Regions from separate parts of the Homo sapiens genome. Here regions 1 and 2 are each linked to region 3. Evidence: promoter capture Hi-C in human tissues and cell types (Jung and others, 2019). All regions are on one chromosome and are shown on one strand. The core of a region is centred on a gene start or on the middle of the fragment in contact, and the rest is flanking DNA. Distances in the headings are between cores, read along the strand shown. Region 1 has its middle 10 kb from the start of LY6L. Region 2 has its middle 29 kb from the start of LY6L. Region 3 holds the start of ARC (activity regulated cytoskeleton associated protein).

What was found. The method cuts DNA at HindIII sites, captures the fragments that hold promoters and counts their contacts. A contact is called where the count stands out against the background at its distance.
Region 1: a fragment that was not itself captured here is called in contact with the fragment with the promoter of ARC in region 3 in 1 of the 25 tissues and cell types used here (lymphoblastoid cells).
Region 2: a contact is called between a fragment that was not itself captured here and the fragment with the promoter of ARC in region 3, in 1 of the 25 tissues and cell types used here (lymphoblastoid cells).

What each region holds. Positions count from the first base shown.
Region 1 is chr8:143,088,891-143,093,175 of GRCh38, reverse strand. No RefSeq gene overlaps it. Among named protein-coding and RNA genes, the nearest start is that of LY6L, 10 kb to the right of the region's middle. The HindIII fragment of the contact is 3,258 bases long and covers 1-3,012 here.
Region 2 is chr8:143,107,778-143,111,575 of GRCh38, reverse strand. No RefSeq gene overlaps it. Among named protein-coding and RNA genes, the nearest start is that of LY6L, 29 kb to the right of the region's middle. The HindIII fragment of the contact is 5,687 bases long and covers 1-3,798 here.
Region 3 is chr8:142,612,371-142,616,270 of GRCh38, reverse strand. It overlaps ARC (activity regulated cytoskeleton associated protein), which reads left to right and starts at 1,792. Exons shown (of 3, transcript NM_015193.5): 1 at 1,792-3,787. The coding sequence starts at 2,000. The coding sequence ends at 3,190. RefSeq lists a silencer at 1,476-1,685 and an enhancer at 1,701-2,599. The HindIII fragment of the contact is 38,144 bases long and covers 1-3,900 here.

The sequences.
Region 1 (4,285 bases), core at 134-2,633, 480 kb before region 3:
TGGCTTATGCCCTTTGGAACCAGAGCAGGGAGAGGACTTCCTGTTACCCAGGGTCCTCCCATGGAATTGGAATGTACATCAATTCTCTATCTGGTCACCCCAAAAGAGATGGGTGTCATTGGCTCTCTGGACTCCTGGCTGCTCCCCTCCCCTCCAGGCGTATGTGGCATCCCACGGCCTGCTTTTCCTAAGGGATCCAGAGGCCCAGCATGGAGTCCCCAGCTGAGTCCACGAGGAGGATGAAGGGAGGGGAGGCTGCCCAGGCCGGAACTCAAAGTCTAGGTCCCCTAACCCTGGACCCCCAGGCCCTGCTCACAGCTGGGCAGGAGCCCGTGGAGGGAACCACGGAGCTCAGAAGCCCACCCCCACCCTCTCCAGGGACTGTCCCGGCTGGCCCTGCCCTGTGTGGACCACCGCAAGCTGGAAGAAACCCAGGCTTTCCTGGGCACTGCAGGAGACTGGCTTGTAGGCCTGCTGGCATTGGTGTGGAGGCAGTGGTAGCATGACAGGCTTCAGTTTGCAGGAGGAGGGGTGAGGGCAGAGCCATGGGCTCCGAGCACACCTGGGTCTGGGCCCAGCCACTACCATGTGAAGATGCCCAAAGACCCCAAGCTCATAGCACCTCAGGTGACACCCTCAACCCTGAGCACACATTCTCCACCCTGGGGCCGGTGTTCACAGCCGTGGGTGTGAAGCCACATAGCATCCCACTCCGCTGCAGGGTCACAGGGCAAAATGCACTCAGCACAGCAGGCCTGCGTTGTCCTCAAGGAAACATGCGCCTTACACCACAGAGACACAGCTGGCCTTTCCTTCCACCCCGTCCTGGTGTCTTCACCTTTCTCTGCATACACCAGCATGGGCCCCAGGATCAGGAGAACCCTGTCCATTACGCAGGCAGCAGGTCTACACTGGGAGCAGAGGCAGAACCTCGCCAGGGCCCCGACCCCTGCTCTCTCCCCTCAACCATTGGTCCTGCCCCTGGACGCCTCCTCTGTGCCCACTGGGATGTGTCCTCCTGGCCCCTCCAGCCCTATCCTCACAGGGGTCTGCATCCCAGGGACCCTCGCCTGAATCCCCCTCCTGCCCCTTCCCTCAGACCTGGGCTGGGCCTGACAGAGGACAGAGGTACTGGGGAGGATTCCTGGGGTTCTTACGCAGCAACCTTGGAGGCCCAAGGAGGAGGATGCAGCCATCACAGCCCGGGGTGAGATGCAGGTCCACCCCCTTCCAGACTCAGCCCCAGCCTCAGCTCTGATGCATCCCCTCTTTGTCTAACAGTCCCCAAAAGTAGGGCAAGGGGCTCCACACTGTGGGGACACCAGGGACCATGAAGACTGGGAGCAGACCCAGAAGTCTCTGAGCTCCTGAAAGGACAGTGACCAAGGCTGAGAAAATGTGGGGAGGACAGTTTGTTTTCTCAAGTTAATGTTCAGTGAAACAAACTGCTTCCTCGGCTCTCACCCTGTGAGCGTGATGGACGCCACATGCCCCCGGCACTCAGGCACTCAGGCACTCAACCCTGGAAGCTTGAACAAGGACATCCAGGGCTTTGATTTCATCTAGCATGTCCAGATCTTATCATTCTCAAAAGTTTTCTGTATCTCTTAAGACCATATTCTCTGACACAGTGAAGTCATACATTCATAACAAAAAGGATAAATACATATTTTCACAAGTAAAAATGCAAAAAGTACATTCCAAATGAACAGATTCTTTAAAAAGAGAAGATCTTAAATATTTTTTTAAAAACCTAGAACAGATGAATGAAGAAAATACCACTTCTCAAAATGGGATGCAGTGAAGGGTGGTAGCTGAGCAAAATGCATATCCTGCGTCCTTACATGAAAGAAAAATAAAGGGGAACATTCTGTTGGGGGTTCATTTTTAACTTTTCAATTTTCTTTTGTTGTTGTTGTTTTAACTTCTACTCAAGACAGCTTGGATTAACTTTTCATTTTGAAATAGTTTCAGGTTTATTAAAAAGTTGCAAAAAAAGTACAAGAATTATGCCGTCTGCTTTATATAGATTTTCCAAGTCTTAACATTTTTCATAACTATAGTACAATGATCAAAACCACAGAATCAGCACTGATACAACTTATAATCTAATCTATAGACCTCATTCACATTTCAGCCATTGTCCCCCTCACAGCCTTCTCTAGTCCAGCATCTAATCCAAGCTCACACGTTTCACTTGGTTGTCCAGCCCCTTTAGTCTGCTTTAACCTGGAACGGGTCCTCAGCATGGATTTATTTCGTGACCTGACACTTTTGAAGAGTAAAGGCCAACTGTTTTGTAGAAAGCCCCATCATTTGGGATTGTTGCTTAAGTGTGCTGTTCTATGTATTCACACTGACACCTCTTTCCCATGGCCATAATATTCTGTATTTCCTTCCTTCCTTGTGTACTTTTGATCTCTTTTCTCCCACAGTGACAATGCTGGCTTGTGACAAAACCAATTTATTTCAACAGTTTAATGATAATATATCTGCATCTGTATTTATCCTATTTGAATTCACTGGGCTTTTGAATCTATAATCTTTAGGTTTATGTCCTTTTTCAAAATTGAAACATTATCAGTCATTAGTTCTTCAGATCTCATTTCTGTACTCCACTCTTTCTCCTCTCCTTCTGGGCCACCAATTATACAGCTGTTGGACTTTTTGGTATTGTTCCTGAGGTGCTGTTCATTTTTTGTTTTGTTTTGTTTTGAGACAGAGTCTCCCTCTGTCACCCAGGCTGGAATGCAGAGGTGCGATTTTGGCTCACTGCACCCTCTACCTCCCGAGTTCAAGTGATTCTCCTGCCTCAGCCTCCTGAGTAGCTGGGATTGCAGGCACCTGCCACCATGCCCAGCTAATTCTTGTATTTTCAGTAGAGATGGGATTTTGCCATGTTGGCCAGGGTAGTCTTGAACTCCTGACCTCAGGTGATACATCTGCCTCGGCCTCCCAAAGTATTGGGATTATAGGTGTGAGCCACTGAGCCCTGCCTCATTTTTTTTTAAATCAGTGTCTTTTGTGTTGTTCAAATTGGACAACTGCCATAACAACTCTTTCCCTTTTCATTTCCATTCTCCTGTTGGCCCAGCCAGAGACTGCTTTATCCTGGTGATTATGTTTCCAGTGGTGCAATTCCCACTTGGTCATTCTTTGTACATTCCACTTTCTCCCTGAGCCTTCTTATCTTTCCATTTATCTCAAGAGTGTTTGCCATTACTTGCTAGAGAATGCTTATGATAATTACTTTAAAGATGTTGGTGATTCCAACCCTCATGTCATCTCAGCACTGGCAGCTACTGATTGCCATTTTCCTTGCTCATTGAGATTTTCCTGATTTTTTGTAGAAGTAATTTTGGATTGTGTCCTGGGCGTTTTGAATGTTGTGAGACTCTGTGTCTTATTTAAGTGGTATGGAGAATGCTGCTAGTTTTGTTTTAGCAGCAATTGATGTGGTTGGGCTTATGTTGCAAGTGCAGAGCAACCTGCAGAGGCTGTGGCTTCCACATCAGCTCAGTCTTTAAAGCCTCATGGTGTTTGGGTATGCAGGTCACTCTCACGTCTCGGTGGAGGTAGATCCCCTCACCTGGTTCTCATAGTCTATTCCATCGAGGGTCACATCCATGCATGCCCAGCTCGGGAGTGAGCCAGAGGTTTTACTGACAACACGATGGATTGCTTTCCAAAGTTCCTCATTACCTGCAGTTTCTCTGATGCTGTGTGGTCACCTGGGATTCTTCTTTGGGGCATCTAGTCAGAAGGCTGCGGCTCATTATGTCACGGTGCTCACACTTTCTCCCTCTTCGACCCCCTCTGGGGTCATGACGTGGGAAGATGTGGAGAGAAAAAGACCCGTGGCCTTTACCCCACCCTCTCGGAATCACAGCTTATCTGATTAGAGGCAAGATCCCTGCCCTCAGTGTTGTGGGTCCCTGCAGGCTCCATGGTGGCTCCTGTGGCTGCTGCTAACCCATTCACTGAGTAAGCCCTGGAGGGGTCCCCCAGAGCTCCCCACCTGTGCCCTGGTGTCTGCTCCTAGAGTGTGGGCTGCCTTGAGTCAAGGCCAGGGAATGCCAGAGGAATGAAAAGGGAAAACTTTCCACTGGTTTGGTGGCACCTCACATTTTTGTCTTATTTCTCAATCTTCCTGATAATTTTATGATCAGAGTGTCCATTTGCATGTGTCCTGGAGGCAGCTCAGATAGCTTCTCCACGTGTTTCAGGCAGGGTTTAGAGCTGCACTCAGCAGAAGAGATGGGAGAGACTACCTCCTCCACCTGAC
Region 2 (3,798 bases), core at 167-2,666, 500 kb before region 3:
CTGAGATCAGGAGTTCGAGACTGGCCTGGCCAACATGGCGAAACCTCATCTCTACTAAAAATACAAAAATTAGCCAGGTGTGGTGGCGCGCACCTGTAATCCCAGCTACTCAGGAGACTGAGGGAGGAGAATTGCAGTGAGTCAAGACTGCCACTGCACTCCAGCCTGGGTGGCAGAGTAAGACTCCATCTCAAAAAAAAGGTAAAAAGTGGATGGGGTGAAACCAAGAGGAAAAAGGAAAGGAGAGAGTCATGGGGTGCATCCTAGCGGGGTGGAATCTGTACATGGTTGTTAAGCAATGGAATGAATAATGGGGGGTTATTCACAAAGGTCTTAATACAACACTATCGAAAGTTGGGTGAACAAAGGGAGCCCCCGCTGGTCCCTCAACAGTAAAGAGCTCCAAAACAGTTTTTGCCAGATTGGAGAAGGCACTCTAACTATAAAAATTGGAAGGCAAAAGTTACACTGAGCAAACTGACCAACAATTGCGGGGGCCAATGTTGAGGTGGGTTAATCAAGATAAGATTGACAGAAGGGCCAGGGTCCCTTGGATCAAGCCCCTGTGGGGCACCCACATCCTTTTTCACAAGAGAGGGTAAAATGGTCTGGAGGTGGGAAAAAGAAGTTCCTGGGAGCAGAACAGAAAGACGTCGAGTTATGAAAGTCGACTTGTGTGATAGAGTTATGAAAGCCGAGATGTTTAAACAGGCTTTATGTAAGGCATTACATATCCTTTACCTAAATGCTTTATGAAAATGGATATTGAAGCTGGTACAGTGGTTCACACCTGTAATCCTAGCACTTTGGGAGGCCGAGGTGGGCGGATCACTTGGGGTTAGGAGTTCAAGACCACCCTGACCAACATGATGAAACCCCATCTATACTAAAAATACAAAAATTAGCCGGGCATGGTGGCATGCACCTGTAGTCCCAGCTATTGGGGAGGCTGAGGCAGGAGAATTGCTTGAACCCAAGAGGCAGAGGCTGCAGTGAGCCGAGATTGTGCCATTGCACTCCAGCCTGGGCAATAGAGACTCAGGAAAAAAAAAAAAAAGGAAAATGGAAAATGGATATTGTACGTGGACTGGGGAAACCCCTACCTACTACTGCAAAAGTAAAGGCATGAAAAAATCAACGAAAAGAGTCAAACTGTAAAATATTGGAAGAGATTTATTCTGAGCCAAATATGAGAGACTGTGGCCCATGACACGGCCTCAGGAGACCGTGAGAACAAGTGCCCAAGGTGTTTGGGCCACAACTTGGTTTTATAAATTTTAGGGAGCCATGAGACACCAATCAATACAGGGAAGACATACATTTGTTCGATCAGGAAAGGTGGGACAACTTGAAACAGGGACTTCCAGGTCATAGGTAGATTCAAAGATTTACTGATTGGCAATTGGTTGAAGGAGTTACTATCTAAAGACCTGGAATCAAAAGAAGGAATGTCTGGGTTAATGAGGGATTGTGGTGACCAAGTTCCTATTACACAGAGAAAGCCTCCAGGTAGCTTCAGAGAGAACAGATTGTAAATGTTTCTTACCAGAGTTGATTCTCTCTTGAATCAGGGAAAAGTCCTGAAAAAGGAAAAGGATTCTCTTCAGAATGCAGCTTTTCCCCACAAGAGAAAGCTTTGCAAGGCTATTTCAAGACATGGCAAAGAAACACAATTTGCGGTAAAATACTTCAATTTCATTCAGTGAATCCTTCGCTTGGCTTCCTACCCTTGAGGCTTTTAATAAGTTGAGTCCAAAATTCCCTAAAAAAGTTCCAGCAAAGCCAACTTAAAAAGAGCCGACCAGCTTAGGCAACATGCTGAGACCCTGTCTCTACAAAACATAAAAAATGAGCTGGGTGTGGTGGGGTGTGCCAAGGGTCCCAGCTACTCGGGAGGCTGAGGCAGGAGGAGTGTTTGAGCCTGAGAGGCTGAGGCTGCAGTGAGCTCTGATTGCACCATTGTACTCCAGCATGGCTGACAGAGCAAGCCCCTGTCACAGGGAAAAAAAAAAAAAAAAAAAGCCTCTAGGGCTGGTAACTATTCTTGCCACGCTTCATGCAAATAGGCCAAGTATAATGAGACCGAAATTTATTTTGCAAATAAACTGGTCCTACTATGATTTATCCTTGGTAGAAATGGGGAAACTAGAGAGAGAAAAATTTAGATCCTAGCTCTGACCGTTGTTTTTGAGTTATTATTTGCTTACAATTTGGGCTAATCCTGAATCATTCACTGGCTACAAGTCTCTAAAGAAAAACCGGGTTTTAGTTTCCTTCACGATGCTTTTAGTCGGCTTCTTAATGAAATAGGTTCTTTTTTGTTACTGTTCTGAAATACAAATTCCCTTTTGATTGTCATCCTTGTGTGCAAATTATTAATGTTATGTATCTCTTGTTGTTTTATTTTCTCTGAGAAAACAGAAGTCGTGGTATCCTGAAGACTAGAGATGATTCAACAGCCGGTGACCCTCCCTCACTGGGACTCTCACCGGGCCCGACCTGTTTTCCGACGCCAAGGCACCGCTGCTGAAGCCAGACAACCCCAAGCACCCTCCCTAAGGCTCAGGGACCATCGCGGAAGAGGAGGGCAGGTGAGACGGTCAGAGCTGGATTAGTGGGGCGGCGCGGGCGGATCATGGAGGCCGAAGCCGCTCCATCTTGGACGCTAGTTTGTCGTGTTGGCTTCTGATTAACCTCAGTTCCGGGAATGCCTCTGAGAGTTCCCGTTCATCTGTTGTTCCTTGTGTAAGAGCACATCCTTATCACAAGTCCTGGCCTTAGGGAAATTCCTGCCCACCCCCTCTGAGGCATGTCCCCTGCACTATGGCAATAGAAGCCCTGGGCCTGGGTGGTGACGGCGCAGGGAGCCGCCATCTTGACTCACCGTAGCCTGAGACTGACATGGCTTCTGTTTCTAAGTCCCTATTAAATGTTTCTTTTTAAGAACTGAATTTGTGGGCCAGGCGCGGTGGCTCACGCCTGTAATCTCAGCACTTTGGGAGACCGAGGTGGGCATTTCACGAGGTCAGGAGATCGAGACCATCCTGGCTAACCCGGTGAAACCCCGTCTCTACTAAAAATACAAAAAATTAGCCGGGCGTGGTGGCGGGCGCCTGTAGTTCCAGCTACTCGGGAGGCTGAGGCAGGAGAATGGCGTGAACCCGGGAAGCGGAGCTTGCAGTGAGCCGAGATGGCGCCACTGCACTCCAGCCTGGGCGACAGAGCAAGACTCTGCCTCAAAAGAAAAAAAAAAAAAAAGATGTGAATTTGTCAGCCTCTTTCTTTGGCCTGTCAGCTTCCTTGGACTTTGAGGTAGATGTGTTTGGACTTGTTCACTGTGAGACAGTGGCTGAATAGTGTTCTTCTGTATACACTTAAACATTCTGTTTATCCGTCATTTGTTGAGGGATATTTGGGTTGCTTCTACCATTTGGTACTTGTGAATATTGCTGCATATATTAGGCTGTTCTTTTGTTGCTGTAAAGAAATACCTGAGACTGGTATTTGTGTTTGTCTCGCAGTTCTGCAGGCTGGACAGTAAGCATGGCACTGGCATTGGCTTGCGGAGGCTTCTCAGGAGGCCTCGGAGAGCTTTTATTGATGGTGGAAGTGAGAGATGGCGCGTCCCATGATGGGAGCAGGAGGAACATAGTGGGGGGAGACGCCGCACACTTTTAAACAGCCACATCTCCCGGGAGCTCACTGTGAGAAAGCACTCATTAGCAAGGGGTGGCAGCAAGGCATCCGTGAAGGGTCCACCCCCATGATCCAGTCACTTCCCACCCCCTCCAACACTGG
Region 3 (3,900 bases), core at 543-3,042:
CGCGGTGCCCCTCCGCCCTCCCTTCTCTGTCCGCCCACTTACCTTTAATTAGAAATGCCAGGAGAGCCATTTTTGGGGAGTTTTTTTGCCAGAAAGACATTCCCCCCCAGGGGCGGAAGGAAGGAGGAGACAGACTGGCTCTGAGGCTGGGAGAGGGCTCCCCGGGAGAGCCGGTTGGGGGGGGGCTCAGAGGGTTGGCAGGGAGGGGGGATTCCAGCAAGTGGGCACCTGTGTGCCCTTGAGTGCCTGAATAAGACAGGGGATGCTGGGGGGAGCTGAGGGCTGTGAGTGGGGGGTATGAGTGTGTATGTGGGAGCTATGAGTGGGGGGTATGAGTGTGTATGTGGGAGCTATGAGTGGGGGGTATGAGTGTGTGTGGGGGCTGTGAGTGAGGGCATGAGTGTGTGGGGTGGGGTTAGAGTGGGGGCTATGAGTGTGTATGTGGGGGTGTGAGTGTGCAGCATGTGTGTGTCTGAGAGAGGGAAAGGGCAGCTGGCAGCAGGAACAAGATGTCTTGATTGTCAGCGATGATGTCCTCATGGCCCTCTGGCTGTGGGGAATGGTGTGTGTCACCCCTGCCTGGGTAACATCAGAGGACCTGAGACCCATGCCTATCCAGCCAGCACTGGAGTAACTCAGGAAGGGCGTCCCTACCCCCGCCAGGTTGCCAGGGAGGCAGAAGGGACCTCCCTCCCGAGGGAGTCTCGGCTTCCGGAGCCCCGCTCCTTATATGGTGCTTGGCTTCCCTCTGCCTCTCCTGATGGCACTGTGCTGCCAGCACCGGCCCCCCTCCCTCTCCCTCCTCGCCTCTCCTCCCTCCCCTTCTCCTTTCCCTCCTTCCACCTCCCTCCCTGTCTCCCTCTCTCCTCCCCTCTTCCATCCCCTTAGAAGTCTTGGAGCCTCTGGCCAGGTTCTTGATATAGCCAGGGTCTTCAGGGCCCAATTCCCTTCACTGGGGGCTAAATGTCCCCTCCATGTCCTCCAAACCCCAGCCCCCCAGGTAGCAGCTGCCAGATTTCCCTGGAAACACAGAAAAGTATTGGGCCTCACCAGAGACCTGCGTATGGGGGCATGGGGCAGCCCTGTCCAGTCACTGCCACGTGGGCCCCTGTCACCCATGCACACCAACGCCAGGGCCAGGCAGAGCGAGCCTCTGCCTGGCTGTGCGTCCCTCACACAGAGCCCAAGACCTGGACTCAGGACCCGGGCAGGAGTGAGTGGGAGCTCAAAGCCACATCTGGGAGCTCACATGGAGACTTGCTGAGCCCCTGGGCACAGAGGCTGATGGTGAGGGTCCTTCCCGGGCTCAGCTGCACATCCTGCAGAGCTGGGTGGGCGGGGTCAGGGGCAGTGAGGACCCAGGAGAGCAGTGGCCAGCGCCAGCCCCCTCCAGCCCCGCAAAGAGAGAGGCGAGTGGAGAGGAGGAAGGCCACCTTGGGACCCTGGGAGGCAGCAGATGACAGCCCGCCCAGCGCCCGGGAGGGGGCGTGGGAGGGGCGCCCAGTGCCCGGCTCAGTCCCTCGGTCCCCGCAGGCTGAATGAGCCCCGCCGTCCGGGGTGGGAGGTACGGAGCGGAGGGATTAGTCATCCTGGCCCCGCCATGTGTGCAGGGGGTGGGACCTCCCGTCCCTTGCCGCCCGGGAGCCGAGTGGGCGCAGGGCGGGGCCTGCAGGGGCGCGGGCGGGGCGCTGGCGGGGAGCCTGCGGCTGGGCCAATGAGAAACCGGGCTCGGCGAGCCGGCCGCCCACGGGCCTCGCTGGCTGCATAAAGAGCCGGCGGCCAGGACTCAGCGCAGAGCTCGGGCGCGGCGTCCTCCCTCCGCAGCAGCCGAGCCGGACCTGCCTCCCCGGGCGTGCTCCGCCGGCCCCGCCGCCGGCCCGCAGCGACAGACAGGCGCTCCCCGCAGCTCCGCACGGGACCCAGGCCGCCGGACCCCAGCGCCGGACCACCCTCTGTCCGCCCCGAGGAGTTTGCCGCCTGCCGGAGCACCTGCGCACAGATGGAGCTGGACCACCGGACCAGCGGCGGGCTCCACGCCTACCCCGGGCCGCGGGGCGGGCAGGTGGCCAAGCCCAACGTGATCCTGCAGATCGGGAAGTGCCGGGCCGAGATGCTGGAGCACGTGCGGCGGACGCACCGGCACCTGCTGGCCGAGGTGTCCAAGCAGGTGGAGCGCGAGCTGAAGGGGCTGCACCGGTCGGTCGGGAAGCTGGAGAGCAACCTGGACGGCTACGTGCCCACGAGCGACTCGCAGCGCTGGAAGAAGTCCATCAAGGCCTGCCTGTGCCGCTGCCAGGAGACCATCGCCAACCTGGAGCGCTGGGTCAAGCGCGAGATGCACGTGTGGCGCGAGGTGTTCTACCGCCTGGAGCGCTGGGCCGACCGCCTGGAGTCCACGGGCGGCAAGTACCCGGTGGGCAGCGAGTCAGCCCGCCACACCGTTTCCGTGGGCGTGGGGGGTCCCGAGAGCTACTGCCACGAGGCAGACGGCTACGACTACACCGTCAGCCCCTACGCCATCACCCCGCCCCCAGCCGCTGGCGAGCTGCCCGGGCAGGAGCCCGCCGAGGCCCAGCAGTACCAGCCGTGGGTCCCCGGCGAGGACGGGCAGCCCAGCCCCGGCGTGGACACGCAGATCTTCGAGGACCCTCGAGAGTTCCTGAGCCACCTAGAGGAGTACTTGCGGCAGGTGGGCGGCTCTGAGGAGTACTGGCTGTCCCAGATCCAGAATCACATGAACGGGCCGGCCAAGAAGTGGTGGGAGTTCAAGCAGGGCTCCGTGAAGAACTGGGTGGAGTTCAAGAAGGAGTTCCTGCAGTACAGCGAGGGCACGCTGTCCCGAGAGGCCATCCAGCGCGAGCTGGACCTGCCGCAGAAGCAGGGCGAGCCGCTGGACCAGTTCCTGTGGCGCAAGCGGGACCTGTACCAGACGCTCTACGTGGACGCGGACGAGGAGGAGATCATCCAGTACGTGGTGGGCACCCTGCAGCCCAAGCTCAAGCGTTTCCTGCGCCACCCCCTGCCCAAGACCCTGGAGCAGCTCATCCAGAGGGGCATGGAGGTGCAGGATGACCTGGAGCAGGCGGCCGAGCCGGCCGGCCCCCACCTCCCGGTGGAGGATGAGGCGGAGACCCTCACGCCCGCCCCCAACAGCGAGTCCGTGGCCAGTGACCGGACCCAGCCCGAGTAGAGGGCATCCCGGAGCCCCCAGCCTGCCCACTACATCCAGCCTGTGGCTTTGCCCACCAGGACTTTTGAGCTGGGGCTGACTCCTGCAGGGGAAGCCCTGGTCCAGCTGGGTGCCCCCTCGAGCTCCGGGCGGACTCGCACACACTCGTGTCATCCAGATGTGAGCACCGCACCCAGCGGCAAAGAGCCCTCCCCCCTGCAGGGCTCCACCCATCACCCTCCCTCCGTCTGTCTTTCCGGCCTGGACCCCACCCTCCACACTCTCAGGCCATCACAGAACACCCCAGCTTCCTCATTCTGCTACAACACCCAGGCCCTCTGGACATCCAGAAAACCAAGTGTCCGGATGGCAGGGGCCAGCGGCCACCAAGCTCATGGGACACCCAGAGCAGAAGCTAGGGCAGAGCCAATGCTGAGGGAGCCTCGACTTCCGGCGCCGCCGCCCTCTCCCGGCATCCGCAGAGCCAGCTGACGCCCTCCCTGCCTCCCAGGGCAGCTGGCCAGCCTCGGGCAGCGCGGCCCCCTCCTCCCAGGGGAGAGTAGAAGTCGCACACGCAGCAGAGCAGACCTGATGTCCCGGTGCTTCCTGGCCCCTCAGGTGAGCCCCTGCCCCAAGGCAGTACCGGCTGTGGGGCATCTGAGAGCTGGCGGGATCCGGAGGCTGTTTTCTAGGAGAGCCCACTGAGGCTTGGGCCCCCAGCAAGTTAGCCA